Regions from separate parts of the Homo sapiens genome. Here region 1 is linked to region 2. Evidence: promoter capture Hi-C in 16 types of primary human blood cells and fetal thymus (Javierre and others, 2016). All regions are on one chromosome and are shown on one strand. Each heading gives the region's core, a stretch centred on a gene start or on the middle of the fragment in contact. The rest is flanking DNA. Distances are from core to core; before and after follow the strand shown. Region 1 holds the start of ZBTB46 (zinc finger and BTB domain containing 46). Region 2 overlaps ZBTB46 (zinc finger and BTB domain containing 46).

Region 1 (2,700 bases), core at 101-2,600, 50 kb before region 2:
AGTAAGGGAGTGTCCCAGGCGTTGGTCCCGGCAGCCACACCTCGCTTCGCCTTTGCTCACTCATGGAGAGCCCTCAGCCGCCTCCCACTGCCGCTCCTGAATGCGCCTCACACATCCAGATTTGAAAGCACCCATAGGGCCGCCGCCTCCCACCTCCCGAGGAATCCGCTGCGCTGGGCCCGCAGGGAGGCAGGCTGGACGGCCCGGGCGCCTCCCCATTGGTTGGCCGGGCCGGGCTCGACTCCCTCGCGCGGCTGCCGGCCACAGGCTCACCTCCCTTCCCGCCGCGCCCGGGGAGAGGAAGCGAGGTGGCCTTTACCCCTGCGCAGGCCGGCCAGGAATGCGGGGCCGCGCTTCCCACTCTACCCGCCCGAGGGCTGAGGACGGCGGAGGCGAGAAGCGACGCGCAGAGTCCGGGCGCCGAGTGGTGGAGACGCGTCCCAGGCCGTTCGGATCGGGGCTGCACACGGGCTGGGGCGAGGCCCGGGCCGCTGGTTCCCGCCCCCTCCCGGAGCCATTCGTCCCCCGCAGACAACACGACGGGAGGGACCCACGCGCGGCCGCCGGTGCCCCTAGTCAGCCAAAAGCGAGCCCCACTGGCGGGCACCCCCACGAGGCCTGCGCCCGAGGTGCGCCGATCTCCGGGTGCGCCGAGGCCCCCGAGGGTAGGCGCGCGCGGTGCCCAGGCCCTTCCAGACCCCGCACCCCGGGCGGCCTTCCTTGGGGGCGCCTTTTCCGCACCGCGAGCGGCCCGCGTTGATGCCCGGCCGGGCTGGGGGAGTCGCCAAGTTTGCGAGACGCGCGCAGTGCAACCGCGCGTCAGGCGCGGGGACGGCCGGTGACCTGGGCACCCGCGCGCCCCCGAGGAACCTGCGCGTGGGCAGCGCCCGGTGCGCGGCCCGGGAAGGGAGCGGGTGCCCTCGCCGGGGTCGCCGCTCCCGTGGGGTGTTTCCAGGCTGCTCCGCGCTCGCGGGGCAAGGGCGCAGCGGGGGCCAGGGGGACCCCCGCGCCGCGCCGCCCCAGCCCCCCGCCAGCCCAGGGGAGGGGGCTTCCCACAATGCCCAGCGAGCTCCAGCCCGCACTTCCGCTGTCCGGCTGCCCGCGGGGGGGAGAACGGACCCCCGGCGCGGCCCCCTGCGACCCCGCGGCGCGGCGCCGGGAGCCGAGCGAGGGGCGGGGCCGGCGGCCGGGCCGGCGTGGGCGGGGCCCGGGGCGGTGGCCGCGGCCGGGGCGCGGCGCGGGCCAATCAGCGGCGGCCGGGCGCGCGCCGGGGGGCGGGGTCAGGGTCCGCGGGCGGGGCGCGCGCGCGCGGGCGGCGGGGGCCGCGGGGTTGGAGCGGGCGCGGGGGCGCGCGCCGGCCTGACGGACCGACGGACGGACGGACGGACCGAGCAGCCCCGGCGAGCGCGCAGCTCGGACCCGCCCGGACGCAGCGCCCTCCCGGCGGCGGCGGCGATCACCGGCGCCGGCCCGGCGGCCGCGGCGCCCGCCCTCGCCCGCGCCCCATGGGGTCACAGGTAAGCGGCGCCGGCTCATTGTCCGCGCGGCCGGGCGGGCGCATCGCGGCGGGGGCCGGGCCCGGAGCCGGGAGCCGGGAGCCGGGGCCGCTGCGAGCCCGGGCGCGCCCCCGCCGCCGGCCGCCCCGCCACGCCCCGCCCCGCGGGGGCGCCCTCCCGGGGGCCATCGGCGCTCCCAGCTGCGGCGCGGGCTCCGGGGGCGGCGGCGGAGACCCCGGCCCGGCCCCCGCGGGTGCCCCCCAGGCCGGCGGCGCGGGGCGGGGCGCGCGGGGGCGGCGCGGGTTCCCCGCGGGGCTGAGCGCGGAGGCGGCTGGGCTGCCCCGGCCCCTCGGCCCCCGGCACCTCCCGCCGCCGCCGCGCTCCCTCCCCGGCACCTCCGAGAGGGGAATTTTCCAGCTGGTAATTTCTGCTGCGTCAACGCCTGGCCCCGAGGCAGCCCGGGGGCGTCTTGGCGCCCCCCGCCCGCGCCCCCCGCCGGCACAGCCCAGCCGCACCCGGAGCCGCCCGCGCCGAGTTTGCCAAGAGTCGGAACTGCGGGAGGTGGGCGCGGGCGGGTCCCGGCGCCCTGAGGCCGGGGGGTCATTGTCTCCCCGGACGCCGGGCGCCGGCCTGGTCTCCATCTTAATCGCCGGCCGAACCGGGGCGCAGGGGCCTCGGGGCGGGGCGGCTCGGGGCGCGGAGGGCTCGGGGCGCGCGGGGCGGACGGGGCGCGCGGAGGAAGCGGGGTCCGCTGCGAGCCGCGTCTTTGTTTCTCTGTAAATAGACATGTCAGTTTCGCGGGGGAGCGCGAGCCGGTGTCTGACAACTCAATCCCTAAGGCAAACGGGGAATTCTCTGCGCCAGAGGGAGGGCTCCTGCTAGTTGGGGTTCCCCTGGCCCCGCTGACAGATTCACTGTTTGTAGGTTTAACGAAGCACACACAATAGGGCTGGACCGAGGAGCCAGGGTACAGACCAGATGGGGCGAAGAACGGATATTTTCTGACAGCGAAGAAATATAAACAAAAGAAAGTTTGAGATTCGCAGCGAATTTCCTCTCTCGCTTTCCGTGCTGCAATCTCAACGATGCATTTGGAGTGGATTACGGTGGCAAGATTGTGATCAGCATTGTTTAAAGAAATGCTAATTAGAAACGTGTTTAGCGCGCGGCCTGGGCGCAGACACCTGTGCGCCGAGAACTCACG
Region 2 (2,700 bases), core at 72-2,571:
AGGTCTGCGGAGTCGTTCTGCCACAAGGTGGCAAAACCACGGCTCGGGGGTTGCAGCCTGGGCGTCTCTGCAGGAGTCATTGGCTCACCACTGGGGGTTTGCATACAGTAGCCGGGGATTTTGGTGAAAATCGCCACGCCTCTTTTCTTTTTTTTTTTTTTGAGACGGAGTCTTGCTCTTTCACCCAGGCCTGAGTGCAGTGGCGCCATCTCGGCTCACTGCAAGCTCCGCCTCCCCGGTTCATGCCATTCTCCTGCCTCAGCCTCCTGAGTAGCTGAGACTACAGGCACCCACCACCACGCCTGGCTAATTTTTTTTGTATTTTTAGTAGAGACGAGGTTTCACCGTGTTAGTCAGGATGGTCTCGATCTCCTGACCTTGTGATCTGCCCACCTCAGCCTCCTAAAGTGCTGGGATTACAGGCGTGAGCCACCGCGCCCGGCCTCTATTTTTTTTTTGACAGAGTCTCGCTCTGTTGTCCAGGCTGGAGTGCAATGGCACGATCTTGGCTCACTACAACCTCTGCCTCCTAGGTTCAAGCAATTCTCCTGCCTCAGCCTCCCGAGTACCTGGGATTACAATCACCCAGCACCACCCCTGGCTGATTTTTTGTATTTTTAGTAGAGACGGGGTTTGGCCGTGTTGGCCAGGCTGGTCTCGAACTCCTGACCTCAGGTGATCCGCCTGCCTCGGCCTCCTACAGTGCTGGCATGACAGACGTGAGACGCCACACCTGGCTTCTCTATGGTCTTTGATTTGCATTTCTTTGATGGCGGATGATGCCATTCATATATCTTTTTTGGTAAAGTGTCTGTCCAGGTCTTTTTGCCGTGTTTCGATTGGGCTGTCTACGTGGTGACCGTGAGGCTCTGGCCGAGTGAGTGTCGTGGCTCAGCTGGCGGTGATGAGCATCGGGCACCTGCTCCACATCTGGGTCTCTTCCTTGGGGAAGTGTCTGTTCAGATCTTCTGCCCATCTTTTATTACTGAGTGGTGAGAGTTCCTAGGTGTTCTCGTTCCAAGTCCTTCATCAAGTATGTGCTTTGAAAATATTTTCTCTTGGCCTTTGGCTCCTTTTTTCTTTCTTTTTTTTTTTTTTTTTTTTTTTGAGGCAGAGTCTTGCTCTGCCACCCAGGCTGGAGTGCAGTGGCACCATCTTGGCTCACTGCAAACTCTGCCTCCTGGGTTCACGCCATTCTCTTGCCTCAGCCTCCTGAATAGCTGGGATTACAGGCACCCGCCACCGCGCCCAGCTAATTTTTGTATTTTTTTTTTTTTTTTTAGTAGAGATGGGGTTTCACCATGTTGGTCAGGCTGGTCTTGAACTCCTGACCTCATGATCCACCCGCCTTGGCCTCCCAAAATGTTGGGATTACAGGCGTGAGCCACTGTGCATGGCCTCCTTTTTTCATTTAACAGTGTCTCTTCAGGAGGATCCTTTTTTTTTGAGACGGAGTATCATTCTGTCGCCCAGGCTGGAGTGCAGTGGTGCAATCTCGGCTCACTGCAAGCTCTGCCTCCTGGGTTCACACCATTCTCCTGCCTCAGCCTCCCGAGTAGCTGGGACTACAGGCGCCCGCCACCACGCCCGGCTCATTTTTTGTATTTTTAGTAGAGACGGGGTTTCACCATGTTAGCCAGGATGGTCTTGAACTCCTGACCTCGTGATCCGCCCGCCTCAGCCTCCGAGAGTGCTGGGATTACAGGCATGAGCCACCGTGCCCAGCCAACAAAGACTTTCTCCTATGGTTTTTCTTGAGTTTTTATCAATTTAAGTATAACGCATAGCTCCATGATTCAAGTTGGTTTTTTTGTATGTGGCGTGAGATCAGCTTGAGGTTCACTTTTTACATAGGATTATAAGGTTGTTCCAGTGCTGCTTGCTAAGAAACCTGTCTTTTATCCATTGAGTTACCTTGCTAACTACTATATACATAAAATTAATGAGAATTTCTTTTATCTGTCTTTTTTTTTTTTGAGATGGAGTTTCACTCTTGTTGCCCAGGCTGGAGTGCAATGGTGTGATCTCGGCTCACCGCAACCTCTGTCTCCCTGGTTCAAGCGATTTTCCTGCCTCAGCTTGCCGAGTAGCTGAGATTACAAGCACGCACCGCCATGCCTAGCTAATGTTTTGTATTTTAGTAGAGACGGGGTTTCACCGGGCTGGCCAGGCTAGTCTCAAACTCCTGACTTCATGATCCACCCATCTCGGCCTCCCAAAATGCTGGGATTACAGGCATGAGACACTGTGCCTGGCGGAAACCCAAATTTTAGCATTTCACACAAGGGAGAGTTCTTTCAGCTTATCCTGATTTCTTTTATGTGTTTTTCACCTTGATTTGTTACAATAATTTAGATTTAAAATTTGGCTTTAAAATTGGGTGATTTTGGCCAGGCATGGTGGCTCATGCTTGTAATCCCAGCACTTTGGGAGTCTGAGGTGGGCAGATCACCTGAGGTTGGGAGTTTGAGACCAGCCTGACCAATGTGGTGAAACCCCGTCTCTACTAAAAATACAAAAATTAGCGGCCGGGCGCGGTGGCTCACAGGCCTGTAATCCCAGCACTCTCGGAGGCTGAGGGGGGCGAATCACGAGGTCAAGAGATCGAGACCATCTTGGCTAACACGGTGAAACCCCGTCTCTACTAAAAATACAAAAAATTAGCCAGGTGTGGTGGCAGGCGCCCTGTAGTCCCAGCTA

Evidence for each region. Contacts are between HindIII fragments. The CHiCAGO score rates a contact against its expected background, and 5 or more counts as called.
Region 1: the fragment with the promoter of ZBTB46 here is called in contact with a fragment that was not itself captured in region 2 in 2 of 17 cell types (M2 macrophages and M0 macrophages); the score reaches 5.1 in M2 macrophages.

What each region holds. Positions count from the first base shown.
Region 1 is chr20:63,829,914-63,832,613 of GRCh38, reverse strand. It overlaps ZBTB46 (zinc finger and BTB domain containing 46), which reads left to right and starts at 1,350. Exons shown (of 5, transcript NM_001369741.1): 1 at 1,350-1,517. RefSeq lists a silencer at 1,193-1,332. The HindIII fragment of the contact is 15,017 bases long and covers 1-2,700 here.
Region 2 is chr20:63,779,548-63,782,247 of GRCh38, reverse strand. The region is part of intron 2 of ZBTB46 (zinc finger and BTB domain containing 46); the gene reads left to right. Among named protein-coding and RNA genes, the nearest start is that of ZBTB46-AS1, 27 kb to the left of the region's middle. The HindIII fragment of the contact is 5,454 bases long and covers 1-2,700 here.